Regions from separate parts of the Homo sapiens genome. Here region 2 is linked to region 1. The links are contacts of gene promoters, found by promoter capture Hi-C in human tissues and cell types (Jung and others, 2019). All regions are on one chromosome and are shown on one strand. Each heading gives the region's core, a stretch centred on a gene start or on the middle of the fragment in contact. The rest is flanking DNA. Distances are from core to core; before and after follow the strand shown. Region 1 holds the start of FAM219A (family with sequence similarity 219 member A). Region 2 overlaps UBAP1 (ubiquitin associated protein 1).

Region 1 (5,890 bases), core at 1,223-3,722:
TAGGAGAATCGCTTGAATCCAGGAGGTGGAGGTTGCATTGGGCCAAGATCGTGCCACTGCACTCTAGCCTGGGTGACAGAGAGGGACCCTGTCTCAAAAAAAAAGAAAAAAAAGTATTCTCTTGCACAAGGGTGACTTTAGCAGTTAAAGGGGTCTGAAGGCAGTCAGAGCTTTTCTAAGTGCCTCCTTGCCACAGATGCTTCTCCAACTCCAGGGCCACACAGACCGGAAGCAGCTCAAGAGTTCTCTACCCAGCCAAACCACTATTCAGAATTTCAGGCAATAACAGAAGCACCAAGGACAACTGAGAGCCTGGTGGCTCTATTTCTTCTCCCCTTTCCTTGAACAGCTATTTCCTTCCTTTTTGAGAACCCCAGATGGGTGACAAGAAACAACTCATTGCTTCCTTTTCCTGACACACTTGAACCTCCTCTTCCTTCATCCACCCTCTATTTTGATTCTTGATTAGATGCTTAGAACTGGAAGGGCAATCTCGTTTGACAAGCCAGGTTAGCTAGAAAGAGAACTCAGAAAGGAAAATTATCTTCAGCCAGCCCAAAGTCCTTCTTTAAGTTCATGGGATGGACTTCTCTCCAGGATTTTCTGGCTCCCAAATAATCCAATGATGGCATGAGGCTAGGAAAAAGTCCTGCAACACCTCTCTCCGGTTTAATATTGTATGCTTCTGTAAAACTTCTTTGTTTTGGCTCTTAGAACTGTCTAAGCAGTCATGAAAGGGGGAAAAAGCCTTTGTCTCCTGCTAAGTGGCCACTAATGATTCTCTCTACCATCCCTCAAAAGGTGTGACAAAAAGGTGGTGATGGGTCCCTGCCGAGGCCCATCTTGGCTGCTGTAATGGGTAGGTTACTCGCCCAGGAAGCTACAAAGCACATCTGTCAGCCAGGGGGTTATAGGCCCAAGGGTAGACCTGTTTCTGGCCACCCTGCCTAACACAGAAGCAGAACTTCAGAACTTGGAGAACTCAGCTCTGCTCCAGCCAGCACAGCTCAGAGAAATGGGGCATCCACACTTTCGGATTTGTAGCCCACCTTGCCTCCTTCCAATTCCAGCTCAGGCTCCAGGGGGATAAAGCGAACACAGCCTAGACATTCCCTCTCTTCCCCCCTCACTATACGAGCTGGCTAGGCCTCCACGTCTCCCACCCGGTTGCCTGACAGACAAGCGAGGTCAGGGAGCCCCCTGGGCGGTGGCCAGCAAGCATGGTCTCCCTTAGGCCTAGCCTCGGTGCACCCGAGTTGCCCTCCCCCTTCCATTCCCTCCGCGCCAGCAGCGATGACATCATTCCTCCCTGACTCCGGGACCGCGGACAGGCGGCAGGATCCGCGCCCAGCAAGGACTTCAGGCACGTAGGCCTAAGATGATGGGGGCTCTTCCCAACCAGTGCGCACAGGCAGCTCCAGCGCGACCCCACTTCCTCTCCCGTCGGTTCCCGAGCACTCTCATCTGCACCCCGATTCCCCATCTGGTCGCCGCGCACTCTCCTTCCCGGTTTAGATGCCCCCAGCCTGGTCTGCCTGCGCTCCCCACCGGAGAACGGAATTCCCAGGTTCTGCACCAACCACCTTCCCCCACTGGGTCCCTCGCCCCGGCCCAGCGTTCCTGTCCGTATATCCAGCGGACAGGCGGGCAAGCCCCTCCTCTTCTAAAAGCTGATTCCCAATCTCTCTTAGCCTGACGGCTCCCCCGCCCTAAGCATCACAGGCCTCTAGGACTAAACGCCTCCCCACCTCCCATCCCAGACCCCTGGGCCTGCCGCCGGCGGTGCCCCATGGCAGTTCCCTCGCCAGTCCCTGCTATGGGCCTCCACTAGCGGTGTGCACCTTTGTGCCCCCTCCGTTCCATCCGACGGTGCCCTGCTTCCACCGACGGTGCCCTCCGCCCTTACAGGTCCCTTTGCTCTCATCCAGCATATTCTCCCACGGTTTTCTTGTCCTGCAAGTCCCCGTCCCCCGGCAATACGTTTTCAGGGATCTCTTTGCCCCATCCGATGGCGCCCCTCCGCACGATCCCCCCGGCCTGATTCCCTCCCTCCCCCTCAAGCGACGCCCCCTCCGGCCTTGGCCTGCCCGCCGCCCGCCCCCTCACCAGCGGCTGCATCTCCGAGTGCGCGGTGGGCACCTGGAACCGGTCGATCTCCTCCATCATGGTGCCGGCGGGCGAGCGGGCCAGGGGCCGGGCGCGGCCGCGGACGCCGACAGGACCGCGCGGGGCGGCGGCCCCAGGAGCCCGGCGGGTGGTGCAGACTAGGCCTCCCCGGACCACTCGGGCGGGCAGGGGCCGGGCGGATGCAGGGGTGGGCGGGGGCGAGAGGTTCGCAGACTGGCTGAGGCCGGCGTGACTCCGTGGGCTTGCCTAGCACTACCGCGGCTGTGGCCGGGCCGAGCCGCAGGTCTTGCCTCGCCTCCTACTCCGCTGCCGCCTCCTGTCAGCAGCTCAGCCACTGCGGTGACTCGGCAACTCCACTTCCGGGTCCGGGACACCGCCCGGATCTTGCATTATTCATGAGGAGGCGGTGCCTGGGGACCCCAGCCCCACCCACATGCGGGAGTTCCGAATGCGCGCGGCCGCCCAGCTGTGATTCCTGAGGGGGCGGGGCTTAGTGGAGACTCGCTCGCCGCGCGCCCAACCCCGCCTCCTTTCCGGGCCGGCTGGGCGCGCCGAAGCGCCTGCGCCTTGGCTGCTGGTCGGTTGCTGGGTAACCGCGTCAGGGAGTTGGATTCTATCCTGCAAGGGCACGGGGACCCACAACGACGGCTGTCCCTAAAGAACCGTTGCGACTGGTAACTGAAGTGGAAGAGAGTCCAGATTTCTTGTGTGTGGTCAAGGAGACGGACAAACTTTTTGTCTTCAGACGAGGGAGCGTTTTGTAGGCTCTCCAGGGGTTGAGATGATTCCTGCTTCTGCGAAGGCTCCCCATAAACAGCCTCATAAGCAGGTAACGTACGCACACCTTCCTTCTGATGACCTCTGACCTTCGTCGTCGCCAGTGACCACTAATCATACCTCTCCTACTGATCCTTGATCTTTTCTCTGTTGACCCCAGCCTTCTCACCCCCGTGACCTCTGGTAAGTGCTCCCACTGACCTCTGACTCTGTCCTACTCTTTCCCACTAATCCCGGCCTCCTCTCCCATACTACCCCAATCCACCGTTTCTTACCTCTCTCCTTTTATCCACCATTCCCATCTCTTCACTTCACTTTACCCCATGGACTCATTCTGACCAGTCTATTCTCCTTAACTTCCCCATCCCCATTCCCACGAGTCCCTTCCTCCTTGTTCTCACATTCTTGTCCCAAAGGAATTTTTCTTTTTCTTTTTCTTTCTTTCTTTCTTTTTTTTTTTTTGAGACAGAGGCTCGCCCTGTAGCCCAGGCTAGAATGCAGTGGCGCCATCTCAGCTCTCTGTAACCTCTGCCTCCTGGGTGCAAGCGATTCTCCCACTTCAGCCTGACGAATAGCTGGAACCAAAGGCATAGGCCACCACGCCCGGCTAAATTTTGTGTTTTTGGTAGAGACGGGGTTTCCCCATGTTGCCCAGGCCCGTCTCTAACTCCTGAGCTCAAGCGATCCTCCTACCTTGACCTTCCGAAGTGCTGGGATTACAGGCGTGAGCCACGGCGCCCAGCCTCAAAGGCATTCTTTATCCAACCCTTTGCTGTGTGCCTAGCTCCAGGCTAGGTGGGAACACAGCTCTTGCTGTTTGGGAGCCCACAGAGGGTGTGCAAGAGAACTAAACAGAATACAGGACAGGCTATGTGCAGGAGTGTGATTTTATTTTCTGTGCTGGGAGATTTATGAGGAGAGAAAGGGCAGGCAAAGAGGAAGAGGAGAGAGGCCCTTTTCTCATCCCTGTCCTCACCCCCACAGTGCACAACCCAAACACTCTGCCCCAACTATTTCTAGAGCCTCATATCTCTCTCTTCCCTGCGAGCCCCTGGTCCACTCCTATGATTCATTCAGCTATGTGAACATTATGCTCTTATTACCACCTGGACAGATGTCATCCCTTCTCACAGGAAACCCGAGTCATCCCCCACTTAACCCACTGAGCACAGAGTTCTGCTTTCTTCCTCAGCATCACCACGGAAGGCAAGGCAGTCCCAGTTTCCCAAGGAGTCTTCTGTGGTGAAGCAACTCAGTCCTTCAGGAACTTTTTCCAAACCCTTTATGAATTACCACTCAGGCTAATGTGTAGTTTCTAGCTCTGGAAAGCAGGACTTCTATATATTTATTCCAGATTTACCCCACTCAAGTCTAGGTACATTGAGGTTTAGAGAGCCAATCTCCATGCTACTTATGACTTTGCATATTTTGGTCTGGCCACCTCCATGTTAGCCTTTGCTCCTCTGCCTCTTTTACCTGGGCTTCTGTAGCAGATGGACCTGACTTTCTTAGGTCTCTGCAGCCTTGGGGAAGCTGCTAGTCCCATATGAACATGCCCTAATTTTATGTTGGGGTTGGGCTTTACGTTGAAGTTCATGTACTGTGTTTGAGCCTCCTGACCCTATATTTACAGGCAGTTTGCTTTTATTTATTTTTTATTTTTGTATTTTTTATTTTTGAGACGGAGTTTCACTCTTGTCACCCAGGGTGGAGTGCAGTGGCGCAATCTAGGTTCACTGCAACCTCCACCTCCCCGATTCAAGGGACCTGCCTCAGCCTCCCAAGTAGCTGGGATTACAGGCATGCACCACCATGCCTGGCTAATTTTTTTTTATTATTTTATTTTATTTTATTTTTGAGACGGAGTCTTGCTCTGTCGCCCAGGCTGGAGTGCAGTGGTGTGATCTTGGCTCACTGCAAGCTCCGCCTCCTGGGTTCACGTCATTCTCCTGCCTCAGCCTCCCAAGGAGCTGGGACTATAGGCGCCTGCCACCACGCCCAGCTAATTTTTTTGTATTTTTGGTAGAGACAGGGTTTCACTGTGTTAGCCACGATGGTCTTGGATCTCCTGACCTCGTGATCTGCCCGCCTCGGCCTCCCAAAGTGCTGGGATTACAGGTGTGGGCCACCGCACCCAGCCAATTTTTGTATTTTTAGTAGAGACGGGGTTTCACCATATTGGTCAGGCTGGTCTCGGACTCCTGACCTCAGGTGATCCACAGGCCTAGGCCTCCCAAAGTGCTGGGATTACAGGGGTGAGCCCCCGTGCCCCAGCAGTTTGCTTTTAAAATAAACATTATTGAGGTTTGGTTTACATATAATAGAATGTACCATTTTAGTTGTACGTGTTGACAAATTTTAACAAATTTACACACGTATAAACCACTACCACACTCAAGATATAGGATACTTTCTCTATCCCAAGAAGTTCCCTGTGCCTCATCCCACCTCCTATGCCCCACCCCTGGCCTGCCTAGGTAACCACAGATCTGCTTTCTGTCATTACAGATTCAATTTGTCTTTTCTAGCAACTTGCAGTTTGAACAAGCTTGGGGATGGGTTTCTCTAGCCCATTAGGGAGACATTAGAGACTAGTTACACTGAGAGCAGGGAGAGGTGACAGCAGACAGAAAGCAGAAAAAACTGGGTCAACTGGCCCCGTACACATCAGCACTGCCCCATGGAGGGAAGGGTTGTTTTAGTTCAGAGTAAATATTGGCGTGTGGGGTGTGAGAAAAGGTTAGGTTGTGCTAGGTTGTATTTACCATTTTCTTGCCTCAGTGAAGACCAATTTGAGTCAGTGCTAATCAGGTGTGGGATGTCCTAGAGATGTTTGAGAAGTTGTCCCTGTCCTCTGGGAATTCAGTTCAATGGGGGAGACAGAACACAGGCAGAAAAAGATAAAGGAGGATGGGATCCCTGGGGATGAAGGGGAGAGAAGCCTGCAGGTTAGAGCAGCAGAAAGGCTTCAGGGAGGAGGTAGGTA
Region 2 (5,890 bases), core at 2,473-4,972, 270 kb before region 1:
TAATGCTTACCAAACACTTCCAGTGTTTTGAGTCACTGAATTGGCTCATGGTAATTGTTAATCTTGTGGTTACTGAGTCAAGAGCCAGCAGTGTGTGTTTTGGCTGCTTCACTTCCTCCTCAACACTTGATATTGTCAGATTTTAAATTAATTTTTTTTTTCTAATCTGGTGGGTTTGAAATTGTATCTATAGTGTTTTTTATCAGCATTTCCTGAAGCTGGGCATCTTTTCATGTATTTTCGTTGGTCATTTGTGCTTCTGCGAAGTGTATATTCAATTTCGTTGCCTATTTTTTTGGTCTTTTCTCTTTTTCTGATTTATTTTTAAGAGTTCTTTATATATTCTGGATACTAATTATTTGTTAATTTATAGGTTGCAAATATCCTTTCCCAATTTGTGACTTGTCTTTTCATCTCTTCATAGTCTTCTGGTGAGAAAAGCTCCTAATTGTAATGAACTGAATTTTTCAGTCTTTCATGGTTTGTGTTTTGTGTTTTTTTTTATTTTTTATTTTTTATTTTTTGAGATGGAGTTTCGCTCTTGTTGCCCATGCGGGAGTGCAATGGCGTGATCTTGGCTCACTGCAGCCTCCGCCTCCTGGGTTCAAGCAATTCTCCTGTCTCAGCCTCCCGAGTAGCTGGGATTACAGGTGCCTGCCACCACGCCCAGCTAATTTCTGTATTTTTAGTAGAGACAGGGTTTCATCATATTGGTCAGGCTGGTCTTGAACTCCTGACCTCAGGTGATCCACCCGCCTGGGCCTCCCAAAGTGCTGGGATTACAGGCGTGAGCCACTGCGCCCGGCTGGTTTGTGCTTGTTGTATCAAATTTGGGAAATCCTTCTTTGCTGCCAGGCATGTTGTTTTAATAAATACAGTAGTATACCTATCTATAATGTGGTATATCTCATCTGACATTTATTTCCAATATTTGCTTGATTACAAAGGCAGACTTCTTAGAAGTTGCTTTCTTATTATCTTTGGAGTTATAGGGCCACAGGGTTTTAAAAGGAGGTTGGATTGTGCCTTACATGTGGGTTTCATACATTGTCCAAACTGAGACACCAACAGATTTGTGAATGAGATGTGCATCTTATTAAATGTTAATGTGATTTGACAATGAGACCTTTCTTTGTGTGGACAGTATTATATACAATTGATAGTGTGTCATTCAGTCTAAGCTGTTAGCACTTTCACTAAAATATATTCAAATTTTTTTTGATGTCTAGTTTTTACAGTGTTGGGCTTTATCAAGAATAGTTGTGGATTGTGGAAGAGCTGATATGGAAACAGAGGAATGTATTTTGCTTTTTTTTTTAAACTCTGTCCGGTTCCTTGGACTTGTGTGTCTCCTATCTTATCAAGAATAATTGTAGATTGTGGAAGAGTTGATATGGAAACATCTTAGAAGAATGTTTTTTGCTTTTTTTAAAAAAAAAAACAAAACTGTCCAGTTCCTTGGACTTGTGTGTCTCCTATCTACCATTAAACCCTTATGACTTAAGGTATATGTATAAATACATATATACATCTTGGTGGCATTGATTTTTCTATGTTGTGTATTAAAGCTGCTAAAAAACATTTTTTCTTTTTTTCAATGAGAAGACTAGTGATTACTTTGACTTTAGGAATTATTCTTCTAAGGAGTCAAGTATTTGATCTGGGCGAGGATCACACTGAAATATAAAACATCTGAGTAATTTGGGTTCACTAAAAAAAAAAAAAAAGAAATGTAAAACAACCACCAGATTAAAAATACACTACAAATACTGTTTACAACCACCAGATTAAAAATACAACACAAATACTGTTTATTTATACAAATAGTATACCTTTGACATTTATGAAAGGCATACTCTTAGATCATTGGGAATCCGTACTTATGTAACTACCATAGTTTATAGTGTCCTTCATGAAATACAGAAAAGTGTAACAGGAAATTTTTAGTTACCATCAGATTTGATGGGTAAATAGAAGAGAGCAACAAAGTAAAGCAATTTGAATGCTAAACTTAGTCTTCAGCTTTTTTTTTTTTTTTTTTTTTTTTAAAGAGATGGGATCTTGCCCTGGTACCCAGGTTGGTCTTAAATGCCTGGCCTCAAGTAATTCACCTGCTTCGGCCTCCCCAAGTGCTGGGATTACAGACGTGAGCCACCATGCCTGGTGCTTTCAGCTACCTTTAACTTCCTGCCTTTTTCTGTTGTTTGTTACTACCACTGGCCTATTCCAGCCTCCTTTAGTAACCTATTGGAAACTCAAGATTAGTCTGTCTTGGGCCGGGTGCGTTGGCTCACGCCTGTAATCCCAGCACTTTGGGAGGCTGAGGCGTGTGGATCACCTGAGGTCAGGAGTTCGAGACCAGCCTGGCCAACATGGTGAAACCCTGTCTCTCCTAAAAATAGAAAAATTAGCCAGGCATGGTGGTGGATTCCTGTAATCCCAGCTACTCAGGAGGCTGAGGCAGGAGAATTGCTTGAAGCCGGGAGGCAGAGGTTTCGGTGAGCCGAGATCGTACCATTGCACTCCAGCCTGGCCGACAAGAGTGAAACTCCATCTCCAAAAAATAAAAAATAAAAAAGATTAGGCTGGCTTTGCCTGTCTTTTGCTTCATCTCATCATCATGGTCTTGGTCCCAGGTGGGGTTTGCATCCTTACTGGTAAGAATGGAATCTTCCTAATCCTAAAATCTTTCTATAGTTTGGGAGTGTTAACATTTCCTTCAGTAGTTTCATGGGGAAGGATATGGGCAGTAACTTCCCCATTTCTTTCTTCTAGTAGATCATTATATCTTTTTTTTTTTTTTTTAAAGACAGAGTCTTGCTGTGTCGCCTAGCTTGGAGTGCAGTGGTGCGATCTTGACTCATTGCAACCTCCTCCTCCAGGGTTCAAGTGATTCTTTCACCTCAGCCTCCCGAGTAGCTGGGATTACAGGCACGTGCCACCATGCCTGGCTAATTTTTATATTTTTAGTAGAAATGGGGTTTCACCATGTTGGCTAGGCTGGTCGCAAACTCCTGAACTCAAATGATCCACCTGCCTCATCCTCCCAAAGTGCTGGGATTACAGGCATGAGCCACCGCACCCGGCCGATCATTATGTCTTATAGGATACCTCATGAGAGAAGTGATCTGGCTGCATGGGTGGAATTCAAGGTCAAATGGTCAGCCAAATTAAAAATCACTGCTGGAGCAGACTTTAGGGGTAGTTTGTGAACTTTCAAATTTGGAAATTATTATTATTATTATTATTTTTTGAGACGGAGTTTTGCTCTTGTTGCCCAGGCTGGAGTGCAATGGTACAATCTTGGCTTACTGCAGCCTCTGCCTCTTGGGTTCAAGCAGTTCTCCTGCCTCAGTCTCCCGAGTAGCTGGGATTACGGGCGTGCTCCACCATGCTCGATTAATTTTGTATTTTTAGTAGAGACGGTGTTTCTCCGTGTTGGTCTGGCTGGACTTGAACTCCTGACCTCAGGTGATCTACCCGCCTCAGCCTCCCAAAGTGCTGGGATTACAGGTGTGAGCCACTGCTCCTGGCCAGACATATTTAATTCTTTCATCAAAGGTTTATTATATTTCCGAGATATTCTAGCCAAAGGAAACAAACTTAACAACTTTTGTTTTCTGAAAATACTTTAGCAAAAATAGAAGGGAGAGGATCAGGAAAAATAACTAATGGATACCAGGCTTAATACCTGGGTGATGAAATAATCTGTACAACAACCCCCATGACACAAGTTTACCTATGTAACAAACCTTCACATGTACCCCTGAACTTAAAAGTTAAAAAAATTTAATGTTAATAAAATCTTAAACAAAAATCACGGAAGGTCTTTAATTGTTTATGTCGTGTCCTATCCGTTTTCTTGAAGAAGAAATATTAGCTAGTTCTTGTAATTTATTTATTTTTTGGGGTGGAGTCCCACTCTGTCACCCAGACTGGAGTGCAGTGGTGTGGTCTTGGCTCACTGCAACCTCTGCCTCCTGGGTCCAAGCGATTCTCCTGCCTCAGCCTCCTGAGTAGCTGGGATTACAGGCCCTTGCCACCATGCCTGGCTAAATTTTTTATTTTTAGTGGAGATGGGGTTTCACCATGTTGGCCAGGCTGGTCTTGAACTCCTGATCTCAGGGGATCCACCTTCCTCAGCTTCCCAAAGTGCTGGGATTACAGACTTGAGCCACCATGCCTGGCAGTTCTTGTAATTTAATAGGGAATCTTTTTTCCTTTCTTTCTTTCTTTTTTTTTTTTTTTTTGGAGACAGGGTCTCGCTCTGTTGCCCAGGCTGGAGTGCAGTGATGCAGTCACAGCTCACTGCTGCAGCCTTGACTTCCTGGGTTCAGGTGATTCTCCTACCTCAGCCTCCCGAGTAGCTGGGACTGCAGGCTCATGCCACCATGCCTGGCTCTTTTTTTTTTTTTTTTTGTATTTTTTGTAGAGATGGGGTTTCATCATGTTGCACAGGCTGGTCTCAAACTCCTAAGTTCAGGTGATCCACCTGCCTCGGCCTCCCAAAGTGTTGGAATTACAGGTGTGAGTCACAGTGCCCAGCCTGCTCTGGATATATTACTGGCATTATATTTAGTGGAAGAGCATATATATATTAGAGTAATGGAGATTTATTTCATTTAGTAGTATAAGAAATTATGTTTAGGTGCAGTTCTAATTTGAGACATTCTGTATCTGTCCTGTCTGATATGTCTCCAACATTGACAGTGGAGATATAAAACATTTTCATCAGTGTAGAAAGTTCTGCTGGACAGCACTGTTGTAGGTCAGTGATTCTCAAAGTTTTAGTGTGTGTATGGATAACTTGGATGTATTATTAAAATGTAGATTCTGAGTCAGTAGCTCTGGTGTGGGCTTGAGAGTTTGTATTTATTTATTTATAGAGATGGGGTCTTGCTATGTTCCCTGGTCTGAAACTTCTGGCCTCAAGCAGTCTTCCCACCTTGGCCTCCTAAAGCACCAGGATTGTGGGTGTGATCCACTGTGCCTGGCCTGTGTAAACTTTAAAATAGTGTCTTTAGCCATGAGGGATGATATTGTAATGGCAGAACTCTGGACAGTGAGTTGAAAGATCGAAAGTTGTAGTTCACTTTTTCCACCATCTTGAAGCTTTTAGAGGCCTGCTGGGAATAGGACTTCTAAAAGGCAAATATGTCTGGAAGGCTGTGGTCCAAGGCCATTTTTTGTTGGCTGTAAGTGTGGTCTCCAGAATCAAAGAGAGCACACAACTGTTTTTAAATCGAAGGTGTTTATGCCTGAGATGAAGCTGAATTCTGTTTGGGCAAGAGATTTGTGCTTATGTATACAAAGCAAAGAACAACACAGTGACTCCTGGTGGCAAACCAAACAAAACCAGAGTAATCTGTGGAAAGATAATTTGCGCCCATGGAAACAGACATGCCAAATTCCAAAGGAATCTTCCTGCTGAGGCCGTTTGGACACAGAATTCACGTGATGTTGTACCCCTCAAGGATTTAAACTACTAAAAAGTAAAAGTGGATTTGTGAACAAAAAAAGTCCTAGTTCAGCTTTCCTGTTTAAAAACCAACCTCTCTCAGCCTTGGATTTTTTTTTTTAATTTTTTAAATTTAAAAAAAATTTTTTTAATTAAATTTTTTTTTTTAGTGATGGGGTTTTGCTGTGTTGCCCAGGTTAGTCTCTAATTCCTGACCTCAAGTGATCGTCCCTCCATGGCCTCCTAAAGTACTGGGATTACAGGCATGAGCCACGGTCCCCGGCCTGTATAAACTTTTTAAATAGTGTCTTTTGCTATGAGAGCTTGTATTGTAATGGCAGAACTGTGGACAGTGAGTTGAAAGATCTAAAGTTCAGGCCAGGCGCGGTGGCTCATGCCTGTAATCCCAGCACTTTGGGAGGCTGAGGTGGG

What was found. The method cuts DNA at HindIII sites, captures the fragments that hold promoters and counts their contacts. A contact is called where the count stands out against the background at its distance.
Region 2: a fragment that was not itself captured here is called in contact with the fragment with the promoter of FAM219A in region 1 in 1 of the 25 tissues and cell types used here (adrenal gland).

Annotation. Positions count from the first base shown.
Region 1 is chr9:34,456,098-34,461,987 of GRCh38, forward strand. FAM219A (family with sequence similarity 219 member A) reads right to left here and starts at 2,473. Exons shown (of 6, transcript NM_001184940.2): 1 at 2,107-2,473. The coding sequence starts at 2,166. DNAI1 (dynein axonemal intermediate chain 1) reads left to right here and starts at 2,708. Exons shown (of 20, transcript NM_012144.4): 1 at 2,708-2,956. The coding sequence starts at 2,909. RefSeq lists enhancers at 639-1,139, 2,271-2,811, 2,374-2,668, 2,765-2,834 and a silencer at 2,145-2,394. The HindIII fragment of the contact is 10,660 bases long and covers 1-5,823 here.
Region 2 is chr9:34,186,401-34,192,290 of GRCh38, forward strand. The region is part of intron 1 of UBAP1 (ubiquitin associated protein 1); the gene reads left to right. It overlaps LOC114224 (a long non-coding RNA gene), which reads left to right. Exons shown (of 1, transcript XR_158845.6): 1 at 1-1,732. It also overlaps the pseudogene RPL35AP2. Among named protein-coding and RNA genes, the nearest start is that of UBAP1, 10 kb to the left of the region's middle. The HindIII fragment of the contact is 5,102 bases long and covers 1,172-5,890 here.